3 separate regions of the Homo sapiens genome follow, and regions 1 and 3 are each linked to region 2. Evidence: promoter capture Hi-C in human tissues and cell types (Jung and others, 2019). All regions are on one chromosome and are shown on one strand. Each heading gives the region's core, a stretch centred on a gene start or on the middle of the fragment in contact. The rest is flanking DNA. Distances are from core to core; before and after follow the strand shown. Region 1 overlaps LTBP1 (latent transforming growth factor beta binding protein 1). Region 2 holds the start of TTC27 (tetratricopeptide repeat domain 27). Region 3 overlaps LOC100271832 (a long non-coding RNA gene).

Evidence for each region. Contacts are between HindIII fragments. The study calls those that stand out against the background at their distance.
Region 1: a contact is called between a fragment that was not itself captured here and the fragment with the promoter of TTC27 in region 2, in 1 of the 25 tissues and cell types used here (bladder).
Region 3: a fragment that was not itself captured here is called in contact with the fragment with the promoter of TTC27 in region 2 in 1 of the 25 tissues and cell types used here (lymphoblastoid cells).

The regions. Positions count from the first base shown.
Region 1 is chr2:33,016,130-33,020,981 of GRCh38, reverse strand. LTBP1 (latent transforming growth factor beta binding protein 1) reads right to left here. Exons shown (of 34, transcript NM_206943.4): 3 at 1-73. Among named protein-coding and RNA genes, the nearest start is that of LTBP1, 72 kb to the right of the region's middle. The HindIII fragment of the contact is 3,658 bases long and covers 1,774-4,852 here.
Region 2 is chr2:32,625,510-32,629,967 of GRCh38, reverse strand. TTC27 (tetratricopeptide repeat domain 27) reads right to left here and starts at 1,918. Exons shown (of 20, transcript NM_017735.5): 1 at 1,588-1,918. The coding sequence starts at 1,675. It overlaps LOC124905985 (a long non-coding RNA gene), which reads left to right and starts at 3,190. Exons shown (of 3, transcript XR_007086273.1): 1 at 3,190-3,335; 2 at 4,012-4,129. RefSeq lists a silencer at 1,429-1,558 and enhancers at 1,809-1,868, 1,397-2,056, 2,279-2,338, 2,057-2,718. The HindIII fragment of the contact is 9,918 bases long and covers 1-4,458 here.
Region 3 is chr2:32,934,256-32,938,964 of GRCh38, reverse strand. All of the region lies in intron 3 of LOC100271832 (a long non-coding RNA gene), which reads right to left. Among named protein-coding and RNA genes, the nearest start is that of LTBP1, 10 kb to the left of the region's middle. The HindIII fragment of the contact is 5,102 bases long and covers 1-4,251 here.

The sequences.
Region 1 (4,852 bases), core at 2,353-4,852, 390 kb before region 2:
GTCCCTGGTTTACACACACAGAGTTGTGGCCGGAGACACATCCCTCCATTCTGACATGGCGGAACACAGCTAGCTGCAGAAAGAAAACAGAAGGCACAGCTTTGAAGAACAACATTGTAGACTTCCTAATTTTTCCAAAGGGTTAACAGTAGCATCAGGTTGTTTGTTCTCCAATAAAAAACCACACAAATACTCATAAGGAGGAAGGTGGGGCAGTTGGGCGGAGGAGGGGGAAGAGAGCTAATATTAATGGCTTCCTATGTGACAGGCACTGTTCTAAAATATATAAACAAATGTAATCCCCCAGCAACGTGTTTTGTAGATATTTTATTGTGCCCACTTTACAGATGAAAAAACAGAAACAGAGATTAAGTGATTTGTTAAACATTATATAATTATTACTCAGTAGAAGAGCTCGGATTTGAAACCAAGTGAGCCAGCTCCAAAGCTATCATTCTTAACCATTTTACTGCATCTGCCTCCCAGAAATGCATCAGAAAATCCAGGAAAAATCGTAAGAAAATGCTCTGCCATTATTTTAAAGTTATGTTCTGTGGCTTAAATTTAAATATACGCTTAACTTAAAATTTAATTTAAAATTTTTTAAGCCTAAATTTTTTGCCAAGACTTGGCAAAAAACAAAAGTTCAGTCCAATCCCCAACCCCAAAAAGTGCTCTCCTATAGACCTCATGTTGTATAGGCTATCAGATCTTCGAGAGACTGTGTCAGAAATTTAGTCCAATCTACTCTTTGACATACGAGAAAACGAGAAAACCAAGGGCAGAAAGGTTGAGAGTCGCCCAAAACACACCTGCTAGTTTGTATAAAAATCCAGTGTGCTAGGCACCATTCCGAATTTAATAATGAAAGGCAACCAAAAAGAAACAACTTCTTCATCTCCTATTTGCAAGGATGTATGTACTCTGAATCACCACACTCCTGACCAAACAGAGTTTTAAAGTTATCAGTCCAGGCACAGTGGCTCACGCCTGTAAGCCCATCACTTTAGGAGGTCATGGTGGGAGGATCGCTTGAGCCCAGGAGTTTGAGATTAGCCTCAGCAACGTAGTAAGACCCTGTCTCTACCAAAAAAAAAAAAAAAAAAATTTAATTAGCTGGGCATGGTGGCACGCACCTGTAGTCCCAGCTACTCAGGAGGCTCTTGAGCTCAGGAGGTCGAGGCTGCAGTGACCGTGATCACAGCACTACACTCCAGCCTAAGCAACAGAATGTAACCCAATCTCAAAATTAAAAATTTAAAAAGAGAAGTTATCAGGGCTGTGGGTCATTGGTAGAGTAAGTAGGTTTTATGATAGGCAAGGTCCCTTAGAAGTTTAGATGCTACTGGCTGGGCACAGTGGCTCACGCCTGTAATCCTAGCACTTTGGGAGACGGAGCCCGGTGGATCACTTGAGGTCAGGAGTTCGAGACCAGCCTGGTCAAAATAGTGAAACCTCATCTCTACTAAAAATACAAAAACTAGCCGAGTGTGGTGGCAGGGGCCTGTAATCCCAGTTCTCGGAAGGCTGAGGTAGGAGAATCACTTGAACCCAGAGGACAGAGGTTACAGTGAGCCGAGATGGTGCCACACATTGCAGCCTGGATGACAGAGGGAAACTTGGTCTCAAAAAAAAAAAAAAAAAAAAAAAAAAGAAGTGTACATGCTACTGACTTAAGTTTTATTATGTAATGTCATAAGCTTATGGCCATGATTCCTTCAGTCCCTTCTTTATTTGTTCAAATACATTTACTATGCTGCCCTGTTGCTGTCAGCTCACCTTTTACATAAACTGTTGGTCCTGAGGCAGATCACACTATCAAGTCTCCCATAAAGTTCAAAACAAGCTTCAGTCCACAAAGCAATTACAAAATAGACAAGCAAAACGAACAACAGGAGACTCAGTTATGAAGATCCAAAAGACCAAGACCTAAAAGCCTCAAAACCTATTGATTTTCTATAAAAGAGACAAAATAATTTTCCCATCTTCCTACAATATGATGCCTATTCGTTACAGCAAGTAATGATTTTTCTAAAATGGCCCTTGGGTGTCAGAATACCAAGCTGACAAATTTTCAGAAAGTTGGGAAGGATTCTCTAAAAGAAAAAAAAAAATGGAGCCAGCTCCCTAGGTGACCTTGGAGTAAGCCACTTAACCCTGGCCTCTGCACTTGTGTGTGTTTGGGGGTTATGAGGAGGGCAGCAGCGATTTGTTCTAAAATGGTCTCCACAATATGAGAATAAAGGCTGTTCCCACACTCTGCTTCTAGAATTCTAGTTCAAAAGCTCTGTGTTTCTAGAATTCAGAATTCTAACTATCAGAGTTTCCTGACCAACTGAGCAAACTTTGTTGCTATATCTGAGATGCTGTCCTGGGTCCCTGCTCAGCCATGGTTATTTCTGGAATGTCACAGGAATGGGAATGGGATCCACCCAAGAGAACAGAAGTGGCCACAGCAAGGACTGAGCTGGGCTTTCAAAGCTGTGCCTTGGCCTGAGCTCACCACCCAGGCCCTTTCATGTGTGCCTTCTCATCATGCTTTCAATTAGAAACATGTTTCTTTTTAACATCTGAGAATGATTTCCGCTTCTCCTCCCGCCCAAGGTACACTGCAAATGTGTTTTCTACCAGGAAGGCTGTTTGGTGCAAAAGCTGGCACCTAGGGGGAGGCCAAGGACTGACATCCTCCAATGTACCACCAAGAATGAGCCGCAAGAACCTGTTTTAAGGAAGACATGGATGGTTAGCATTTTTTTTTAACTCTTCAAATTTTTCATGTGGTAGGGTAAGGGGGGTGGGGAGACAGTCATAAAAGTTAAAAAAAAAAAACTTTGAACTTACAAATATTTTCTACTGGAAGAAAAGTAAAGAACGTGTTATATAATATTACAGCTATGTATATAATACCTCCCTTTGTAGTACATTTTAAAAGGACAATTAGGAGAATGAAAAGACAATTTTCTCTTCTACCTACCCTACCTAGACTCAGACAGGTGCCCCCTAGAGCACGGAGATGAGGAGGGGCTGGATTGAACTGGAGGAGGACAGATTCCCTAACTCCCAAGAGAAGCCCGTCATCTGACATAAAAAGCAAAACTTGTACTTTGGGAGGCCGAGGTGGGCGGATCACAAGGTCAGGAGATTGAGACCATCCTGGTTAACACGGTGAAACCCCGTCTCTACTAAAAATACAAAAAATTAGCCAGGCGTACTGGTGGGTGCCTTTAGTCCCAGCTACTCGGGAGGCTGAGGCAGAAGAATGGCGTGAACCCAGGAGGCGGAGCTTGCAGTGAGCCGAGATAGCGCCACTGCACTCCAGCCTGGGCGACAGAGCAAGACTCCATCTCAAAAAACAAAACAAAACAAAACAAAACAACTCATGTCCTTCTATCACATTTATCAAGCCCCTTTTCCTACAATATTTGGGCCCATGCAGTAGCAGTTCTTACATGGCAGCAAGCATCAGTGGTTCTCACAGTATGGTGCCCAGGCCGGCAGTATCATCCGGGAAAACTTTGAAACTACATATCCTTGGGCTACCCCAAGCCTGCTAAATCTGAAACTGGAGCCCAGCAATCAGTGACTGCCCTCCAAGCGACGTCGATGCACACTCAGGTTTGAGAATCACTGACACACAACATCTGGAAACAGGTCTTCCAGCAGCAAGTTTCTGAGGACTTATATTTTTATACTTGCAAGCTTTCATGCTGTAATTGCTTTTAGGCTACTGAATTCTTGGCTATGATAAAAGTGTTTTATCTTGCCATTTTTATTGCAATTTTAGATGTCATTTTCCATATCTATACATTGCCAAAAGTCTACACATTTGTCCCCATCTACTTCATGGCCAATGCAAAAATTCATAGCATTTACGTGAAAACTTATTATAACTAAGGTGTTGGACTATGTGGAATATTATAAATATTGTCACAGAAGTACCTTTTATTTTTATTTATTTATTTTTTGAGACATAGTCTTACTCTGTCACCCAGGCTGGAGTGCAGTGGCACGATCTTGACTCACTGCAACTTCTGTCCCTCAGATTCAAGCAATTCTCCTGCCTCAGCCTCCCAAGTAGCTGGGATTACAGGCATGCATGCCCAGCTAATTTTTGTATTTTTAGTAGAGATAGGGTTTCGCCATGTTGGCCAGGCTGGCCTTGAACTCCTGACCTCAGGTGATCCACCCACTTCAGCCTCCCAAAGTGCTAGGATTGCAGGCATGAGCCACTGCCCCCAGCCAGCCAGAAGTACTTTTTAATTTAATTTTATTTTTTTTCCCATCAGTTGATTGCTTTTTCCTGGCCAGCACTGTGCTGTGGTTCAGCTCGATGAGTGGAGGCTGAGTGGAGGCTATATCAAGATCTTATCAGTGGATTGGGCGGTGGTTCTCAGGCTTGGCTGTACATTAGAATCACCTGGGGAACTTTTAAAACTCCCCAAACCCAGGCCTAACTCCAAACAGATTAAATCAGAATCTCTAGCGGGGGAGGGCTCCAGGCTTCAGTACTTTTTTAACTCCCCAGGTGACTGAAATATACAGCCAAGTCTGAAAAGTAGTGGGTTAGGAACAAAAACCTAATCCAGGCTTGCGGACAGACTAGTCTTCTAAAACGCTACTCTTTGAATCATTTTTTTCCCTTTCATTCAAAAACTTTCCACACATTTTAGCTGACCAAGGGTAAATGTTAAGGCCATCTACATCTAACCCAAACCCCCTTTTCCACCCTCACTTCTCACTGGTCTACCCCTGCAGAAGCTCACCCAACCTCTGGGATTCCCACCTCCTTGTCTCTGCACAGAGGGAGCCCTATGCAGGAGCACAGGCCCCTCAATCCAATGAGAACAATTAA
Region 2 (4,458 bases), core at 669-3,168:
TCCAGGCCACCAAAGTTCAAACTTCCTGTCACTGGAAGCACCTACTGTGTCACACAAGTGCCCACACACACACACATACACACAGAGTACTTACACACTACACTGTTCATTATTACTCTTTTGGGTCCAGCCTAAATCCCACAACCAGATGTGCCAGTGCATGTGCCTTTTAACTCTTTATCTCTCTGGTAAATATTCATTGCTCACAAGAATTAATCTTTGCCTCCTAGGCTGGGCGCGGTGGCTCATGCCTGTAATCCCAGCACTTTGGGAGGCCGAGGTGGGTGGATCACGACGTCAGGAGATCGAGACCATCCTGGCTAACACGGTGAAACCCCGTCTCTACTAAAAATACAAAAAAAAAAATTAGCTGGTCGTGGTGGCAGGCGCCTTTAGTCCCAGCTACTCGGGAGGCTGAGGCAGGAGAATGGCGTGAACCCGGGAGGTGGAGCTTGCAGTGAGCCGAGATCGCGCCACTGCACTCCAGCCTAGGCGACAGAGCGAGACTCTGTCTCAAAAAAATAAAAAAAATAAATCATTGCCGCCTAGGCCGTGCATGGTGGCTCATGGCTGTAATCCCAGCACTTTGGGAGGCCGAGGCGGGTGGATCACCTGAGGTCAGGAGTTCCAGACCAGCCTGACCAACATGATGAAAGCCGTCTCTACTAAAAACACAAAATTAGCCGGGCATGGTGGTGCATGCCTGTAGTCCCAGCTACTTTGGAGGCTGAAGCAGGAGAATCGCTTGAACCGGGGAAGCGGAGGTTGCAGTGAGCCGAGATGGCACCAGTGCACTCCAGCCAGAGCAACAAGAGGGAGACTCCATCCCCCCAAAAAAACAACTTTGCTGCCTCATTTTAGCTCCTCTGCTTACCAACAGTGTGACCTTAAATAAATTACTTAACCAGACCCGGGCGCGGTGGCTCAGGCCTGTAATCCCAGCACTTTGGGAGGCTGAGGCAGGCGAATCATCTGAGGTCAGGAGTTCCAGACCAGCTAGGCCAACATGGTGAAACCTCGACTCTACTAAAAATACAAAATTAGCCGGGCGTGGTGGCGCATGCCTGTAATCCCAGCTACCCTGGAGGCTGAGGCAGGAGAATCACTTGAACCCGGGAGGCGGAGGTTGCAGCGAGCCGAGATCGCGCCATTGCACTCCAGCCTGGGCAAAAAGCAAAACTCCGTCTCAATAAATAAATAAATAAATAAATAAATAAATAAATAAATAGATAAAATAAAATTACTTAACCCAACTGTATTTACAGATCTTCACCGCAAAATGGGATTAAAAATTGAATCTACCTTAAGTATCTACTATAAGCATTAAATGACTGAGTACATGTTAAGGGCTTAGAAAAATAACTGACATTGCCATTGTCATTATTACTGAACCTGGGCGGTAAGAAGTTTTGCGCAAAGAAAGTGAGGACCACGCCCACCATGTCAAAGACTAAACGACCCAAAGCCTCAAGGAATCAGCTAGACTGTGTTAGGGAAAAATGAAGGGAGGGATGAGAATCAGTCGCTGCCATCCCTTTTCCTCACAGTTCCCACGATAGCCTAAGGCCCGGTAGGTGCGCCTCTCACCTGAACCGACGACCCCCTCCTGTTTCCATTGCTGCCGCTCAGCCTCAGTGGGGAATCCCCTCAGAATTGCCAGCTCCGGGGTCCACATCACCCCAGACACCGCTGCAGCCAAAACAGGCTCCCACGAGGGCCACACGGGAGTCAACAAAAGAAAGTGAAAACAGGAGAGTCCAAAGGCGCTGAAATCTAGTGGCGACAGTTACCGTAAATACACCTGCGGCCCTAGAATTCCATGTGCGGATACTACCTCAAGGAGGCGGCCATAACAGCAGCGCGGGGCACCCTGGGAAAAACACGCACGCTCTCTGGTCTGGCTTCCGCCTAGGAGAAGAACCCGAGCTTGAGTAAGGAGCCTGTTGGGTGGTTATGCCCCACCCCGGGGCGGGCAATAGGGGGAGTTGAGGGCGCGGTCGCGCTCAGCCCCGCCCCCAGTGGGACCGCTTCCAAGAACTGTGAACGTGGAAGTGAGTGTGCCTCCCACCGAGGGCTAGGGTTCAAATGCAACTCAAAACGGACGTCTTGGCCAAAGCAGTTTGATTAGAAGGGCTAGAGTTGTGATTCTTAAAGCATTTTGGGTTAGAACGCTCTCGACAACCCGATGAAAACCACAGTCCTTCGCGCAGAGTGCAGGTGGGCCCTTGCTCTCAGCCTAAGGGTACCCTCTCAGGGAATCACAGACCCTCTGACGTGGAGTCGGTGAAGCCCAGGTTGGAACCCCGTCAGCATAGCATGGGTCTTTCGGCGAATGAGCGTGTAAGGAAAGGATCTGGTTTTGACACTGCTCTACATGAATCATGGCCGGGTGGGAAATCTGCCCCTGCCGCTGGTGCAGGGAAGTTTTTGGAACACTGTCGGAACGCTGTAGAAGAGTGATCCCAGGGGTGATCACAAAGAAATTGCAAGGAGACAAACCAGCCTCCGCTGGTACCTTATTTGCACTTCTTTGAATCTTCCTAGCAGCACTCCAAAGAAACAGTTAGAGGGCGGGCGCGGTAGCTCACGCCTGTAATCTCAGCACTTTGGGAGGATGAAGCGGATGGATCACCTGAGGTCAGGAGTTCGAGACCAGCCTGGCCAATATGGTGAAACCCGTCTCTACTAAAAATACAAAAATTAGCCGGACGTAGTGGGGCACCCCTGTAAACCCAGCTACTCGGGACGGTGAGGCGGGGGAATTGCTTGAACCCGGGAGGCGGAGGTTTCAGTGAGCTGAGATGGTGCCACTGCACTCCAGCCTGGGCAATAGGAAAGAGGGAGGGAGGGAGGGAAGAAGGAAGGAAGGGAGGGAGGGAGGGAAGGAGGGAAGGAAAACAGGACTATGGCTTTGTCCCATTGGCTTGACACCTGTACTGAGATATGTCATGTAAGAGCCAGGAGAAAACTGCAGGGTAACTCTGACCACAAGAGCAAAAGCTCTCTGAAAAGAGGCTGACCCGGTACCCAGCTCCAAGGAAGAAGCTAAATAAATGTTAATTCACTTTCTTACTCAGTAAAGAGCCACTCCAGAATGTGAAGGGAGAGGAACTCAGCTCAGCTCATTTCAGCCATTGCCATCAGATACCAAAGGAAGCCGGACCTGACTGTGATTGGAGAAGAGCGGATGCCCTAAAATGTCCTCCCACTGAGAAGTAATTAAAAACTGTTTTTCAGGCCGGGCGCAGTGGCTCACGCCTGTAATCTCAGCACTTTGGGAGGCCGAGGCGGGCGGATCATGAGGTCAGGAGATGGAGACCATCCTGCCTAACAAGGTGAAACCCCATCTCTACTAAAAATATTTTTTTAAAAAATTAGCCGGGCGTAGTGGCGGGCGCCTGTAGTCCCAGCTGCTCAGGAGGCTGCCGCAGGAGAATGGCCTGAACCCAGGAGGCGGAGGTCGCAGTGAGCCAAGATCGCGCCACTGCACTCCAGCCTGGGCAGCAGAGCGAGACTCCGTCTCAAAAAAATAAACAAACAAAAAAAACCCCACTATTTTTCTAGAAAATGATACTTGACCAGGTTGTCTGTTCATTTCCTTAAGTATAAAAGCCAGCACTGTCTAAACTAATTTGATAATTGTTAAAGATGAACGTCTGTAAAAACACACTGGCCGCTCTGCCAAAGTTCCTCACCTGTATGTAGCACCCCGTTAATCCACATAGTAAACTTGCAACTTTCAGTTAAATTCAAGGTTGGTTTGTTTTAAATGTGGTATGCTAGATGATGATGGTGACTGAAGTCTGCCTAATCTCCCTTCAAGCAAAGTGAATTCCAGTAATAAAGTAGGTGGGGAATATGGTCTCGATTAAAAATATGTACATAGTGAGTGGAAATTGAGCAGGCAATGAAATATCTACTGTAGGATTCAGTATAGAATGCCTTGGCTGACGAGTCTATTGGGATCCTGTATGTCACTATCTAAAAGTCTTTTTTTCTTGGGCTGGTCAGATTTCTCCAAAAGACTCTTTAAATCTCCTACCTGGAAGGTGAGGCTCTGGCTGCCACAGTTCCAGGGCCCAGTGGAGATAGAAAGCCAGAAGTCTCCATATTCAAGACTAAGAATGAGGTAAGTGAGAGATACTTTTAACAGAATTTAGGACTATCCTTGGCTTATTTTATGCCTCTAATCCATGTTGTTTCCTTTCTCGTCTCTTATGTCAAGTAGTTCCCAACCTATTACAAAATCTCATCTTCTCTAAACTAGTGATTCTAGCTAAATGTTTATAGTAATGTTTGGTCTACAGTAAAAAATAAATACAATTATAACACCTCTATTTTGAAATACTGTGTGACAAGGAAACAAGGTTTTGCATCGTTTCTTCCAAAAGGAGAAAAAATAGGAAGGAGGATGGCTGGAGATGTAAATTCAACAAGTATTACAAGAGGCTAGGAGAT
Region 3 (4,709 bases), core at 451-2,950, 310 kb before region 2:
TATCATTCTGAAATTCTCTCACCTCCTCAACTAAGTCTTCCTTCTCCTTCAATTAGAATTTGAGATCCTTTCATCCATGAAGCCCTTTGAAATGACCTTAACTTCAGTTTACTCTCTCTTCTAAACTCTTATGTATATTATCCATTCTCTTATGACCATTGAACACACAATCCTTGCTTTGTGATAGACATAGAATACTTCTAGCAGGGGAAGACTTTTTTCTCCTTGGTCATCATGAGATAAACCAGAATTAAGGCAGGTCTTGGTTAATAATGCCTGAGGTTTGGTTAGGGACATTCTGACCTGTCTTTAGCTGTTTTCAGGCAGCATTTTGCTGAGCAATGGAGTTTGCTTAAATTTTACCCTAACCTGAATTAAGTTGCTTTAACCAAATCAAGCAGTGGCCCTAGGGGGAGTGAGGGGAGTTTCCTAATCCTAAATTAATGGTTTAAAAAGTTCTGTAGAAAGAATCCTGTTATATTTGTGTCTAAACACTGTAATATTTACAGAATTATGTCATTAAAATAGTGCTTTTAAAACATCTCTCTTTTGTTGTCCTCTCAACTTCCCGTTTGTGGAGATCAGGACATACTCTGAGAATTGCAACTAGTACAAATCATCACAATATGGATAAACTGAGCAATATACAGAAGTCCCTCTCACCACCAAAGAAACATTAGCTATACAAGGCATGAGCTGTCTTTCTAAGCAGAGAGGGGAGACCAGTAAAACCAGCCCAGCGTCTGTGATTCCTCCAGGTTTCCCGGTTTTAAAGCCCAGGTTTAAAAAGCTACTGCTGAGACGGATCGGGTTACATCTTCCAGCTGCCAGAGAACCTTACACTTAACCCTTCCCAATCCTCGACCTGGATGTTGCACTCCCATTTCACTTCCTAGAAAGGGTATCTTCTATCTTTGTATGTCTCCCTATGTTCTATTCCTTACATATGAGCAACTGGCCAAAGCCCCAGGTGAAGCTTCCTGTGGCCACACTACGTTCCATGCTTCAGCCTCATCTCTGGAGTCCTGCCTGTGCTGAGGACAGAGACCTTGCGTGTCACGTCCTCCGTGCCTAATACGGTGTGCAATTCATGGTCAAGGTTCAGTGTTTGTTAAATGAATGATTGTGAACCTTCTGATGCCTATGTCACAATAAGAAAACTGCTGACTATCTTTTTTTTGTTTGTTTATCATGAGCATAAACTGTGCCCAAGATCCTTAAGTTGTCAAGGGTCTGGAGATTGATTAATTAATTCTTTCATCCATTGACTCATTCGTTCATTTGTACACCATTCCCTAGACGTTTTTGAGGGCCAGTTGTTTTTTAAGGAACCAAGAATGAGGATGAGAAATTACTTAATGGGTATAACATATACTATTCAGGTGATGGCCACACTAAAAGCCCAGACTCCACCACTACCCGATATACCCATGTAACAAAACTGCAGTTTTGCCCCTTAAATTTATACAAATAAAAAACAGCCTGGGCACGGTGGCTCATGTCTGTAATCCCAGCATTTTGGGAGGCCAAGGCAGGTGGATCGCTTGAGCTCAGGAGTTCAAGACCAGCCTGGGCAACATGGTGAAACCCCATCTCTACCAAAAATACAAAAAGTTAGCCGGGTGTACTGGGAGGCTAAGATGGGAGGATCACCTGAGCCTAAGAGGTTGAGGCTGCAGTGAGCTGTAATCACACCACCACCACTCCAGCCTGGGTGACAGAGTGAGACCCTATCTCAAAAACAACAACAAAGAATGGGGAAAGGATTTTAGACATTTTTATTTAGGGATCTAATATTCCTGACTAAATCCAAGGATTCTCTCCGAAAATCTTCTCTTCAGAAGGCATGGTGTAAAGAGATGGATAGGTAGAATCTCTTCCTACAATCCTCTTGCAGCTAATTGCCAGACAATTTACATGAGCACATATAACAGTATCTGTAAAAAGTAAATACATGATCCTGGATATTTGTGTACCAGAAGGGAGTGAAATGCATGGTTAAGGGCACAAATTTTGGTATCAAACAACCTGGGCTCAGTTCCCAGTTCTGCTTCTAGGTATGGGAGTGAATTTAGGGGCATAAGGCCCATGTTCTGGAAGAATCTAGGAAACAGCCGGATGGGCATTAAGGAATTAAACTCTTGAATCCCCCTTGAACAATCACTTCTATGAGGGAATGCTTTTGAGTACTCATTGCTGCCCTGAGAGCCACTTCTCAGCTGGAAGCAGTTGGAAACAGATAATCTCAGCGTTAGATTCTAAGGGGTCTGTCAAGACTGCCATTTTATGTTATCCCTTTAAGGTTCAGCATGCGGAATAATTTCTCAGCCATCATGAAGTGTTTCCTGGTAGCCAGCTCAGGCTCTACAGATTTACCACCCTAACTCTTCCAGTAAAAGAAAGCCATTTTCAGAAAAACAGAACTTCCTCCAGAGGTTTTATAGCCAAAGGTACCAAAAACTGATGTGTCTCTTGTGTTTTTCACTTGGTGGAGAGAAGCCACAGGGTTGCAATTTCAGATACGCTTGTCTCTAGAAAATAGAACTTGTCTGGGAGGGGATTTAGAGCAAAGATGGAGGAGGAGGCCTCGATTTTACAAAGAAGGATGGTGGGAAGAAGAGAAGGGAAGAAAATCATTCATTATCATTCACTGAGCACTTACAAAGGCCCATCAGTGGCATGGGGGGTAGGGGGGAGTCTGCACCTGCCATCACAGAAGGGGGCTGCTGTTTAAATGTTTGTCTTCATGACTGTTGACAAAAAGAGTCAAATTATAAAATATTTAAAGAGATTTATTCTGAGCCAAATATTAGGACCATGACCCATGACACAGCCCCAGTGGCCCTGAGAACATGTGCCAAAGGTAGTGGGGATGCAGCCTGGTTTTATACATTTTAGGGAGACATAAGACATCAATCAATACAGGTAAGGTGTAGATGGGTTCAGTCTGGAAAGGTGGGACAACACAAAGTGGGGTGGGGCAGGGGGTTTTCAGGTCATAGGTAGATTCAAAGATTTTCTGATACAGATGAAGCCTCCAGGTAGCAGGCTTCAGAGAAAATAGATTGTAAATGTTTCTTATTAGACTTAAAAAGATGCCAGACTCAGGTAATTATCTCCTGGATCAAGGAAAAGACCTGGAAAGGGAAGGGGATTCTCTACAGAATGTAGATTTTCCCCACAAGAGACGGCTTTGCAGGGCCATTTCAGAATATGTAAAAAAAATATACTTCAGTTGCTTTCAGGGTCTGCTATCTGTCACGTTGGTATCTTATTACTGCAAAGAGTCAGTTTTGTCAGTCTTAAGTCTCTGTTTTAATGTTTGTTGGTTTGTTTGCTTTTGAGACAGAGTTTCACTCTTGTTGCCCAGGCTGGAATGCAATGGCTCAATCTTGGCTCACTGCAACCTCCACCTCCCAGTTTCAAGCGATTCTCTTGCCTCAGGCCTCCCGAGTAGCTGGGATTATAGGCGTGAACCACCATGACTGGCTAATTTTGAATTTCTAGTAGAGATGGGGTTTTGCCATGTTGGTCACGCTGGTCTCGAACTCCTGATCTCAGGCAATCCAACCGCCTCGGCCTCCCAAAGTGCTGGGATTACAGGTGTGAGCCACCGTGCCTGGCCTGTTTTAATGTTGATGCTGGTCAGTTGTGCCTGAATTCCTAAGGAAGGACGGTATAATGAGGTGTATCTGACTGCCCCTTTCCCATCATGGCCTGAACTAGTTTTTCAGATTAACTTTGGAATGTCCTTGGCTGGGAGAAGGGGTCCATTCAGTTGGTTGGGGGACTTAGAATTTTATCTTTGATCTATATGACTAAAAATTGACATTCTGTGATTTAATAAACCACACACTTCTGCAAGCTTAAATTTTGTTACCTGTAAAATGGAAATAATACCTAAAACAGGATTCGGCAAGCCTTTTCTGAAAAGGACTAGATAGTAAATATTTTCAACTTTGTGGGTCATGCAGTGTCTGTCACAACAACTCAGCTATGCAGTTACAGCATGAAAGTAGCCATAGACAATGCATAAGGCATAGGCGTGGGCAGATTTGGTCTGCAGGCCGTAGCTTCTCATTCCCTAGTCTAATCCCCTGTTTTAATACATAGGGCACTGTGAAGATTAAATGAGCAAATCCAAGTAACGTATTTTAGTGCAGCATGCGGCAGGTAAGTGCTTAATAAATATTAGCTATTATCATGGTTGTGATCTTAGTCTCTCCCATCTATAAGGGCTAACTGTGTTCACTTTAGTGAGTGAGGTAGTCCTTGGTGTTCCTCAGGAGATAGTCCAGCCTTCTCTCTCTTGGGCACATGGTGAATGTCACGACTGGGTTTTTGGAGAAGAACCCTGAGATGGAGTTTAGTGTACAGGATGCTTATTAATGAACATCCTTGGGAACAATCCCTGTGGAAAGGAAAAGAGGAAAGCAGGATTGGGCAGAGGGAGAAGTCAAGTTGCCAAACAACAGGCTGAGCCAAATCCCAAAATTGTCCCACATCAGGCTGAAAGGGCTGGGCTTCTACCCACACAGGAAGCATTCCCTGGATGTGGGCTGCCCTGGGAAGCATATGGCCCTGGGTGAGTAGCTCTGAATTTCTAGGCACTCCTTGGAGGAGCCAACAGATGAAGCTTGTCTGTGACAACACGCCCAGAAACCCAAGCAATAAGCTAGTGGGAGAGAAAGATGTGACCAACTCTGACT